Linked DNA regions of Homo sapiens: regions 1, 2 and 4 are each linked to region 3. The links are contacts of gene promoters, found by promoter capture Hi-C in human tissues and cell types (Jung and others, 2019). All regions are on one chromosome and are shown on one strand. The core of a region is centred on a gene start or on the middle of the fragment in contact, and the rest is flanking DNA. Distances in the headings are between cores, read along the strand shown.

Evidence for each region. The method cuts DNA at HindIII sites, captures the fragments that hold promoters and counts their contacts. A contact is called where the count stands out against the background at its distance.
Region 1: a fragment that was not itself captured here is called in contact with the fragment with the promoter of YLPM1 in region 3 in 1 of the 25 tissues and cell types used here (lymphoblastoid cells).
Region 2: a contact is called between the fragment with the promoter of ZNF410 here and the fragment with the promoter of YLPM1 in region 3, in 2 of the 25 tissues and cell types used here (bladder and mesenchymal stem cells).
Region 4: a contact is called between a fragment that was not itself captured here and the fragment with the promoter of YLPM1 in region 3, in 1 of the 25 tissues and cell types used here (spleen).

What each region holds. Positions count from the first base shown.
Region 1 is chr14:75,435,026-75,437,725 of GRCh38, forward strand. The region is part of intron 1 of JDP2 (Jun dimerization protein 2); the gene reads left to right. Among named protein-coding and RNA genes, the nearest start is that of JDP2, 8.4 kb to the left of the region's middle. RefSeq lists an enhancer at 2,418-2,700. The HindIII fragment of the contact is 5,565 bases long and covers 1-2,700 here.
Region 2 is chr14:73,885,576-73,888,275 of GRCh38, forward strand. ZNF410 (zinc finger protein 410) reads left to right here and starts at 1,284. Exons shown (of 12, transcript NM_021188.3): 1 at 1,284-1,340. PTGR2 (prostaglandin reductase 2) reads left to right here. Exons shown (of 10, transcript NM_001146154.2): 10 at 1-151. RefSeq lists a silencer at 944-1,223 and an enhancer at 1,274-1,343. The HindIII fragment of the contact is 8,605 bases long and covers 1-2,700 here.
Region 3 is chr14:74,762,059-74,764,758 of GRCh38, forward strand. It overlaps YLPM1 (YLP motif containing 1), which reads left to right and starts at 1,258. Exons shown (of 21, transcript NM_019589.3): 1 at 1,258-2,304. The coding sequence starts at 1,432. RefSeq lists an enhancer at 966-1,305. The HindIII fragment of the contact is 19,465 bases long and covers 1-2,700 here.
Region 4 is chr14:74,002,864-74,005,563 of GRCh38, forward strand. All of the region lies in intron 3 of ENTPD5 (ectonucleoside triphosphate diphosphohydrolase 5 (inactive)), which reads right to left. It also overlaps the pseudogene RPL41P4. Among named protein-coding and RNA genes, the nearest start is that of ENTPD5, 15 kb to the right of the region's middle. The HindIII fragment of the contact is 8,142 bases long and covers 1-2,700 here.

The DNA of each region.
Region 1 (2,700 bases), core at 181-2,680, 670 kb after region 3:
TACCACCTGGAATCACAGCGCTGCTGGCCGCGTGGCCACATGGTTTGTTCCCGGCACAGTTTTGCTACAAGGAATAGGTCTTCCTGCTGGCCCCTTCCCTGTTCTCCTTAGAGGAGGCCAGGGGAGACGTGCAGCTCATCTACAGGGCCCTGGAGCGGCCTCCTAGCGTGGCAGGCTGCAGCCCTCTCTGCATTGCAGGTTCCATTCCAGAGGGCTGAGAGGGAGCTCTCTTACTGCCACTAGGCTCCAGTCCAGCTCAGAGTTTGGGGGATCAGAGAACATTGAACACCCACATGCGAGAGGTCTCAGGGGCTATTTCTGTGTCTGGGCTCCCATGCAGGCTACCGTGGAGTTATTCAGGGAACTTCCTAAACCTGGATCTCCATGGGGGGTGGAGGGTCCTCTGTGCAAGACAATGACCCTCTACTGTGGGCTGGTGTCTGAAAGCCCACCGTGAGAAAGTCATTCCTTCTGCTGAAGGCGTCGTTACCTATTGGACCCCAGAAAGGGAAACAAAGAAGGAAGGGTGAGAAAGCTTTGGTCTAGAACCCTGGGACCAGGAGTCGAGCCCTGGCTCCAATCCTCTCCAGCTGTGTGACCTTGGGGAGGCCATTTAGCCTCTCTGAGCTTTAGTTTCCTCCTGTCAAAATGAGGATGTGGTTTAGATGAGCACAGGGCCTCCTTCAGCTCTAAAACTGTAACTCAATGTGATTGAGCCTCAGATCTTTTTCTGATGGCCCAGGGGACACGGGGTGAAGGAAGGAGAGAAAGGATGTGAGTGGGAAGGAGTGCTAAGAGGACCGGGTATGGGAGGCACAGTAGGTAGAGCACAGTTAGAGGAGCCTGAGGACACCAAATAAAAACTCTGGGGCAAGCCAGGGAGCTATGGGCAGAGGCTTTATGACAGATGCAGCAGGCATGCTGAGGATGAAATGGCGGGTCCACTTCCCATTCCCAGGCACCTCGCTTTAGACACCTTGCTTTAGACAAAGTGATGGCCAGTGGAAACCTTTGTGCTTGAGGGTGCAAGTTACTCACATGCTTTTTCTCTTAGAGAAATAGAACTTATTGGGAAATAGACTCTGGACTTGGACAGGGAACCAAATTTCACCTTCAAAAGTGAAATGTAGATGGAGAATATGGCTTGCACTCTTGGCCAAAACAGGTTCACAAATGCCCCTCTCTGGAATGATCTAGACCTGGGAAGCTGAATGGGGGCAGGTGGTTGTGGGTCACCCTCCAAGGCCACTCCTGCAGGAGACAGAGAGCCCAAGAACCATGTGGCCATCTGAGTACATTAACTGCCCAACGGAGAAGTATTGTCCGATGGACATCAGATCTTCCCTCTTCTGCCAAATACATCTCTCTCCATGGGAAGAGACAGGTAAAGATGGAAGGATAGGCCAAAGATTTTCCCTCAGGAGTGCTAAGCCAGCGAATATTTTGATTTTATGGCCCTGGGCAGAAAGGTGAAAAGAGGGAGAAATGATTTCCTTTCCAGGACTAGAATCTAAGAGCAGTTTTGTACTAACATGCTACTTAAAAGGCTGCTTCAAAGCTAAGACTGCACATCTGACCTCCATATTCCTAGTGCCTGCTGGCCTATAGTAGGTGGTCAGTAACTGGATGGATGGGTAGGTAGGAGGAGCCCTTTAAGGGACTGGCTTTATTGGCAGACCAGCTTTCTTCACTGCCATCTGTGCCTTGAAATGACCATTTCTTACCCATGAGCTTCCCCCAGTAAAGGGAAGGAAGAATTCCCTTGGTGTTGACCTGTCTAATTTACATCCTTCTTCCATGTCTGAATCTGTCTTCCCTTGTACACCTTTTTGGTTGGGCAGAGCTGGAATATGTGTTTGCTCTGAGAATGAAGAGAACATGGAGGTAGCCGGGCGCAGTGGCTCACGCCTATAATCCCAGCACTTTGGGAGGCCAAGGTGGGCAGATCATTTGAAGCCAGGAGTTCAACACCAGCCTGGCTAACATGATGAACTCCTGTATCTACTAAAAATACAAAAATTAGCTGGGCGTGGTGGCAGGTGCCTGTAATTCCAGCTACTCGTGAGGCTGAGACAGGAGAATTGCTTGAACCCAGGAGGCGGAGGTTGCAGTGAGCTGAGATCGTGCCACTGCACTCCAGCCTGGGCAAAAAAAAAAAAAAAAAAAAGCATGGAGGAGTTTTCTGGTACTGGGTTCCACAGGGAAAGCACATGCTAATTAATTCCACCTGCTTTGCCTCAGTCCCTTCCTCATAGATAGCACACACACTCACCTTTAACTTAGATTTGCTTCATCTCCTACTCAGGGTGTCTTAACAAATATGCAGAATAGGATGTGTGATTGGAGGGGAGGCACCATGCCAGACCAAAAATAGCTTCCTCTGAAACAGGTGTGAAGGTGCTTGAGGTTCTGCCGTTATAATTCGCTCTCTTCAGAGACTGTATGCTGCCATTGAAATCCCAGCTCCACCAATTTTAACTGTGTACAACCTTAAGCGAATTATCATTCTAAGCTTGGCTACTTCCTCTGTGTAATGACCTCTGATCCAGCCTAATGGGACTGCAGGATTACCATGGGGCCTGGCACATACCAAAGGCTGAATACATGTTGCCTATGATTGGGTCAAGCATTGCCTTCAAAATAAAAAAGGCAGACACTTCTGGCAGTGCCAAGGGTGACCTTGGTGTGAGTTAATTGAGC
Region 2 (2,700 bases), core at 34-2,533, 880 kb before region 3:
GCCCTTTTTTGTTACTTTTCCTGGACCATTTCATCGCCTGAGGGGGTTTCACTTTTCTCTGTATGTTGCTAACTCCCAAATCTCCATCTGTATTTCTGACCTCTTTCTTGAGCACTGGACCTTTACCTCCAAGTAAATATCCTCAACTCTGGATTGCATCTTATACTCTGCTTTTTTCTTTTCTTTTCTTTTTTGAGATGGAGTCTTGCTCAGTCGCCCGGCGTGCAGCGGCACGATCTCGGCTCACTGCAACCTCCGCCTCCCGGGTTCAAGCGATTCTCCTGCCTCAGCCTCCCGAGTAGCTAGGATTACAGGCGCGTGCCACCACGCCCGGCTAATTTTTGTGTTTTTAGTAGAGACGGGTTTTCACGGCGTTACCCAGGATGGTCTCGATCTCCTGACCTCGTGATCCGCCCACCTTAGCCTCCCAAAGTGCTGGGATTAAAGGCGTGAGCCACGGAGTCCGGCCTACTCTGCTTTTCTAAAGTGGAATTATCTTCCTCTGAAATGTTTCTCCTTTATTTTAAATCACCATTAGTAATTTGTGTACCCAAACCTGTCATCAAGGCTTATCTTTAACCTTGAAAATGCCTTTTTAAAGAGAACTCCTTTAATTCCCACGGTTGAGTCTCTCATTCTTCCGCACGCAAATATTTTAAAATAAGTAATTTCAAGAAGTCAGTCAAACTCACAAAGCTTTAACAAGGTGGCATCCAGCTTGGAAGTCAAGTGTTCAAGCCCGCAGTCGGGACATCCAAGAGCTCTTTACATCCTAATTACAACACGGAACCCAGACTCACTGCATACCCCGTCCCGTATATAATGCAAAACTTGATTCTGCAAGTTCCTTTCTCGGGCGGTGAAACTTCGAAGGTCCTCTCCATGGAGACCTTTGATAAATGTTTAAGCAGTGATCTTTTCTTTCGCGTTTGCCTCCATTGCAACGCCTCCGCTGATGGGAAAAACTACTCCCTCCGCTACTGCGGGGTGGCAGTGACGTCAACGAATTAGCTGACCTGTTTTTTCGGGCTTCGCGGACATAGGAGTCCCGAAGGCCGAGAGTGAGTGAGTGAGTGGGAGCGGGGCGGCTGCGGCTCCTCCTGTCCGGGGCGGAGCCCTGCGTCGCGGGCCTGGGGAGGCCCCGCCAGCACCCTTGACGTCTGGGTCCCGAGCAGTGCGGCAGCCACACGACACTGAGGCGAGCGAGTGGGTGTGTGCGTGGGGGGTCAGCCAAACTTCCTGTCCCGCGCTCGAGCTGCTTCCGGCGGGAGCCGGAAGACGCTGTGTGTGGACGGAATTCGGGACCGACTGACGGCCGGCCGGCTTCCCGGAACTGGAAGGTGAGCTCCGAGGTGGGCCTGGCCACCCCTCCTCGGTTAGGTAGTACCCGAGAGGGCGGGGGCCAGTACCGGCTACTTGGGGCCTGGGGCCGAGTTCGCCCCGAGAGAGGAAACCGCCCTCCTTGGGCATCCCTCCTGGATCTGGCGGGCCCGGGAGCGGCCAGTCTGAAGCCCTGCGGCTTTGGCCCTTCCCCTCGCGGGTTTTTAGGGGCGATGTTCTTGCTCCTTTGCTTGGTTTTGGGGGTAGGGATATAGGAACAGACTGTCCTGAGAAAGCCAGAGTCAGCGAGTCCCCGGGGCGGGGGCTCTTGGACTGCACCCGCAGCCGGGGCCTGCCTACGGACCTTGGGGCCTTATTTCTGAGGCCTTTGTGGTGTGGGGTAGAGGATGCCAGGAGGCCTTGCCCTGAATGTTTCAGTCCAGAGCTACCCTCTCCTTTCATACCACTTACTTTCTGGGTTTGGAAAAGGGACAGCTGCCTACTCGGCTGGGCTGGGTCGCCCGTTTCTCCTTTGCCTGTCAGTTCGGGGGGCAGGAGTGTGTGGATTGTTTACGGCCTTCATACATTTCGTGTCGAATTTATTTTCTGAAGTTTCTCAAGATAATCCAATTTATTAAAGTTTATCCCACTTGATCATGAGGCTCAGAAATGCATTTAGGCACCATTTGGAAGTTAAATATTATTAACTTGGGACTTAAGAATTAGTACTTAGGTTGGAACGAAGGTCAACGCAGCATATTTGCAATAAATAAAAAACATTTGGAAATAAAGTCGGGCATTTTGTTAGGGAGTGAGAAATTGCACTTGGTTTTTTCTTAGTGTGGTGCAGAGTAAAAGACAACTAAAGTAGCAGTCAGAAGTTTTAAGTTCTAGTTTTTTACGTTTTGCATCTAAGTAGATGTCTAATTTTTGGCAAGTTGCTGAATCTCTAGCTCTGGGGAGTTTTTCTGTAAACGAAGGGGTTTACCTTTAGGGCTATGACAATTTTTCCGAGGCACTGAACTTTGAGTAGAAGTGACATAAGCATTTCTTTGTTTTGGAAAGATAACTTGAATGGCTGCATAAAGGATGTATTGGAAAGAGGAATTTTAAACGCGGGGTGACCAGTTAGAGGCCTGTTTTAATAGTATAGTAGAAAGTTACTGAGAGACCTAAACAGGGCATTACAGTAGGGAACAGAGAACATTCTGGGAACAGAGAATCACGGGAATTATTTAAAAATGGAGAATGAGAGAGATTTAAAGACCTAGAATTTGCAGCTGAGTGGGAGGAAGATTGGGCGATCATTGAAATAGGTAATACAAGAAGAACAGGTTTGGTAAGGAAGATAATAATCTGGATTTTGGACATTGTTAGGTT
Region 3 (2,700 bases), core at 8-2,507:
AGTGAGCCCCCGCGCCCTGCCTCTGCGTTTCTTTTCTGTCTATGAAATTATCCCGATTGTTCTGCTCATTGGAACACTGTTTCTGCTTTATAGAATGAGACGTTGCCCAATTCTAGAATAGCAGGTAAAAGTTAATTAAGATCTTTAAACTAAATTTGTTGTAATTTTGTCTTTTGACATGTAATTTTCTGTATATTCGTTATACTTCAATAAAAAGTTAAAAGAAACATAACTAAATTTCTATTTGAAAACAGAAGCTCTTCCTTTTGAAGGATGCCTTGCTGCTCCACTTTCCATTCACATTCACCTCCTGAGAGAGGTGAAGATCTGGGTTGCTAAGATGGAAGAAAGGTCAATTATTTGCATGTTACTCAAGTGATGCACTGACACAATATTCTCACAGTTCTCCCTCCCCCCGCCCCCCCCCACACACCCAAAAGAATTCAGTGTATTAGCTTTGCTTTTTAGTGATTCACTCAAGCTAAAGTAAGAGTTTATGTCTGGTATTACGTTGAGAGCTTTTGGAAGATTATCTTCCAGGTTGTCTTTAGACCATCTTTGTATCTGGTTTTTGCTCTCTTTGCTTTTGCTCTGAGATTCTGCAACACCGATTTATATGTGTTGAGACAGTCTAAAAAATTCCATTTCTCCCCTTCTACAATTCCTGCAGATGTTACTCACTATATGTCTGCAGGAATTGGTGTAATCTTACACTCTGCCTTGAAAACACCTTTCCATTCTTCACAGCTTTGTTCCCAGTTGAATTTCTGGGGAGAATTGAGTTAGGTCTATTCATTTAATTTGGGAGAAACTGACATCTTTACAATTTTTCCTCTTTTCACCCAGGATCATGGTAAGCCTCTCCATTATTTGAAGTCTAATTTCATCCTACTTGGATATGCTTCTTTATGACTCTGTAGCTTTCTACATATAAGTCCTACATCTTTCTTGTTAGAGTTTTTCCTAGTTGCTTTATGTTTTTTTGTTGTTGTTGCGATTGTTGCTATTGTGAATGGAACCTTTTTTTTTTTTCATTCAAAAATGAACCCGTGGAGCGATAGGATCTCTACCACCTCTTTCGGCTGTGAGACTCTATGGTTTTTCAGTTCTATGAGAACATTCTACTGGAGCCTACATTATCTGAACCCAAAGGAAGATGGCAACCACGAGTCGCCAAGTAAAGGACCGCTCTATCTCGCCTTTGTTCTCCTCTCGGTGGTTACTGCGCAGACGTAGTCGCCCAAGTCGCGTCCCCGCCTTCCCGGTCGCGGGCCCAGCTCGGGAGCGCCGGCGCACTGGCGCGCTCCGTTTACACGCTCCGGGGCCTGTAGGCGCCGCGAGTTCCGGCTGTCGCCGTCGCCGCCGCGGCTCCTGGAGGTCGGTTGCGACGAGTAACGGCGCCAGGACGAGCCCTGCGCCTTCTTTTTCGATATGTACCCGAATTGGGGCCGGTATGGCGGGAGCAGCCACTATCCGCCGCCACCGGTCCCACCGCCGCCGCCAGTGGCGCTTCCTGAGGCCTCGCCGGGGCCCGGGTACTCGAGCTCGACGACTCCCGCGGCCCCCTCCTCCTCGGGCTTCATGAGCTTCCGCGAACAGCACTTGGCGCAGCTCCAGCAGCTGCAGCAGATGCACCAGAAGCAAATGCAGTGCGTGCTTCAGCCCCACCACCTTCCTCCGCCCCCTCTGCCGCCCCCGCCAGTGATGCCGGGGGGCGGCTACGGAGACTGGCAGCCGCCACCGCCACCGATGCCCCCGCCACCCGGGCCGGCCCTCAGCTATCAGAAGCAGCAGCAGTACAAACACCAGATGCTCCACCACCAACGAGACGGGCCTCCTGGTTTGGTTCCAATGGAGCTGGAATCCCCCCCTGAATCTCCCCCTGTGCCGCCTGGGTCCTATATGCCCCCATCTCAGTCTTACATGCCCCCACCTCAGCCGCCACCCTCTTACTACCCCCCGACCTCATCTCAGCCCTACCTGCCTCCTGCTCAGCCGTCCCCTTCGCAGTCCCCACCTTCCCAATCCTACCTGGCGCCCACCCCTTCTTACTCATCCTCCTCCTCTTCCTCGCAATCCTATTTGAGCCATTCCCAGTCCTACTTGCCCTCTTCTCAGGCATCTCCTTCCCGCCCCTCCCAGGGCCATTCTAAATCCCAACTACTAGCTCCACCACCACCGTCCGCCCCCCCTGGAAATAAGACAACTGTCCAGCAAGAGCCTTTGGAGAGTGGGGCCAAAAACAAGAGTACTGAACAGCAGCAAGCCGCCCCTGAGCCAGATCCCTCTACGATGACTCCACAGGTAAGAAAGCATCTGCCTGAACCTCATCTTTCACCTAGAGGGCCCTGAATGAGCAGGCCTCAGGGCTTTAACCAGTGGTTAGTCTAATTCCAACACACAATGACTAGCTAACACTCCAAAGGATTCCGTAAGAGTCAGAGGGCTGACAGCTCAGCTTTTTAATTAGCTAGATGTGAATTACCAAAAAAACAGCGTTTGTAGATGTGTATGGATTACATACAGTGGTGGGGTGGCTCAAAAGTTACCTCTCAGATACATTCCTTGGTTTCTTTGACCATCCTCTTAGATTTTGTTGCTGTTGCAAATAGATTTTGTTGCAGAGGGTCTTGTTTTAAAATTGTATTTTAAACGAAAGTTTCCATTTGAGAGAAAGCATGAAAAAGAGGCCTCGCCAAG
Region 4 (2,700 bases), core at 112-2,611, 760 kb before region 3:
TGCTTCCATCCCCACTACATCTCTGACCCCATCTACTAATAGTTTTCACCTTACTCTCCCCCAACACTGACCTCTGCGCTTATTCACTCATGCCCCTGCCTTAGGGCCTTCGCTCTAAGCTGTCCCCACTGCCTAGAAATTCTTTTCCTATATATCCACTTGATGAATTCCTGCAACTCCTTCAAATACTTGTTTAAAAATCACTTTCTTATTGAGATCTACTTAATACTATAACCTCTCACCTTCACATGCTCCCACCTCTACCTGCTTTCTCAACTCCCCTTACTCTGATCCACTTTTCTTTTTTCCACACCACTTATCACATTCTAACATACTGGAAAGCTTACTGATATTTATTGTCTGTGTTCCTCTGATAGAATATAAGCTCCTCAAGAGCAGAAATCTTTTTGTTTACTGGTGTAACCCAAGAACCTAGAAGAGCGTCCAAGGTGGAATTCAATAAAAACTGACAATAGAAATGGGCTAGGGTTTCTCTCAGCCTTAGCGCCATTTTCTTGGAAACCTCTGCATCATGAGAGCTAAGTGGAGGAAAAAGCGAATGTGCAGTCTGAAGCACAAAAGAAGAAAGATGAGGCAGAGGTCCAAGTAAACCGCTAGCTTGTTGCACCGTGGAGGCCACACAGGAGCAGAAACATGGAATGCCAGATGCTGGGGATGCTGGTACAAGTTGTGGGACTGCATGCTATTGTGTAGAGCTTGTCTCAATGGATCCAGAACTTCACCGCCCTCTGATCGCTGATCACCTCTGAGACCCACCTTGCTCATAACCAAAACTGCCCATGTTGGTCCTCTGCCCTGGACCTGGGACATTCTGGACTATTTCTGTGTTTACTTGTGGCCGAGTATAACAACCATACGATAAATCATCTCTTCTGCTGTCTTAGCTGAAGAATCAAAAAAAAAGAAAAAGAAAAAAAGAAAAAAAAAATTGGCTGGGCATGGTGCCTCATGCCTGTAAATCCCAACACTTGGGAGGCTAAGGCAGGAGGATCACTGGAGCCCAGGAGTTTGAGACCAGCCTGGGCAACACAGCAAAACCCTATTAAAAAAAATTTTTTTTTAATGAAAAAATTAGCCAGGCATGGCAGTGCACACTTGCAGTCCCAGCTACTTGGGAGGCTGAGGCAGAAGGATCACTTAAGCCCAGGAGTTCGAAGCTGCAGTGAGCTAGAATCATGCCACTGCACTCCAGCATGGGTGACAGAGCAAGACCCTGTCTCAAAAAATAAATTAATTAAGTAAATAAATACATGTATTAAGCAATAAAAATATTTATTATCTCATCCCTTTTTTATTTTTTTGAGACAGAGTCTCCCTCTATTGCCCAGGTTGCAGTGCAGTGGCGTGATCTTGGCTCACTGCAACCTCTGCCTCCTGGGTTCAAGTGATTCTCCTGTCACAGCCTCCGAAGTAGCTGGGACTACAGGCACCCCCCACCACACCCGGCTAATTTTTGTATTTCTAGTAGAGACGGGGTTTCGCCATATTGGCCAGGCTCAAACTCCTGACCTCAGGTGATCCACCTGCGTTGGCCTCCCAAAGTGCTGAGATTACAGGTGTGAGCCATTGCGCCCGGCCTATCTCATTATTTCTGTGGTTTGGGACTCTGAGAGTGGTTTAATTAGACAGTTTTGGCTCTGAGGCTCTCATGAGATTGCAGTCAAGATGTAGGCTGGGGCTGCAGTCAATCTGAAGGCTTGACTAGGCCTGGAAGACCCACCTCCAAGATGGCTCACTCAATGGTTGGCAAGTTGATGCCAGCTGTGGGCAGGAAGTCTCAGTAGCTCCCCGTGTAGATCCTCCATAGGGCTGCTTGAATGTCTTTATAACCCAGTGGCTGGCTTCCTCCAGAGCAGTCAATCCAAGAAGAGCAGGGCAGAAGCAGTAATGTCTTTTATGACTTTGTTTTGGAAGTCATACACTATCATATCCCTATATTCTAATGCTCATACAGACCAACCCTGACGAACTGTAAAAGGGGACTACACAAAGGCATGAATATTAGGAGGTGAGCATCACTGGGGGGCATCTTGGAGGCTGGCTACTGTAAGCTGTAACCAGTATTTGTGTAATATTTTGTGGGGTTTTTTTTCCAGTATACCATATATATATTTCAATAAACACATCTTACATACTTCTTATTTTAGGACCTGCATGTTATTCCAATGATATTAACTGTTTTTGTTCATTTGTTTATTCTTAGAAAAAAATAATATATAGAAATAAGCCAGGTTAGCTGGGCATGATGGGACATGCCTGTAATCCCAGCTACTCGGGAGGCTGAGGCAGGAGAATTGCTTGAACCCGGGAGATGGAGGTTGCAGTGAGCTGAGATCGCACCATTGCACTCCAGCCTGGGCGATAGGGTGAGACTCAGTCTCAAAAAAAAAAAAAAAAGAAAAAAAGAAAAAAAGAAAAAAAGAAATAAACCAGGCGTGGTGGCTCATGCCTGCCTGGGTGAGAGAGCAAGACTCGGTCTCAAAAAAAAAGAAAAGAAATATAGGCAGGGTTTCACTATGTTTGTCAGATTGCTCTCAAACTCCTGGCCTCAAGCAATCCTCCACCTTGGCCTCTCAACATGCTAGGATTACAGGTGTGAGCCATCACATCGGCTGCTATTAACTCTTAAAAATGAACAACTGGCCAGGTGCGGTGGCTCACGCCTGTAATCCCAGCACT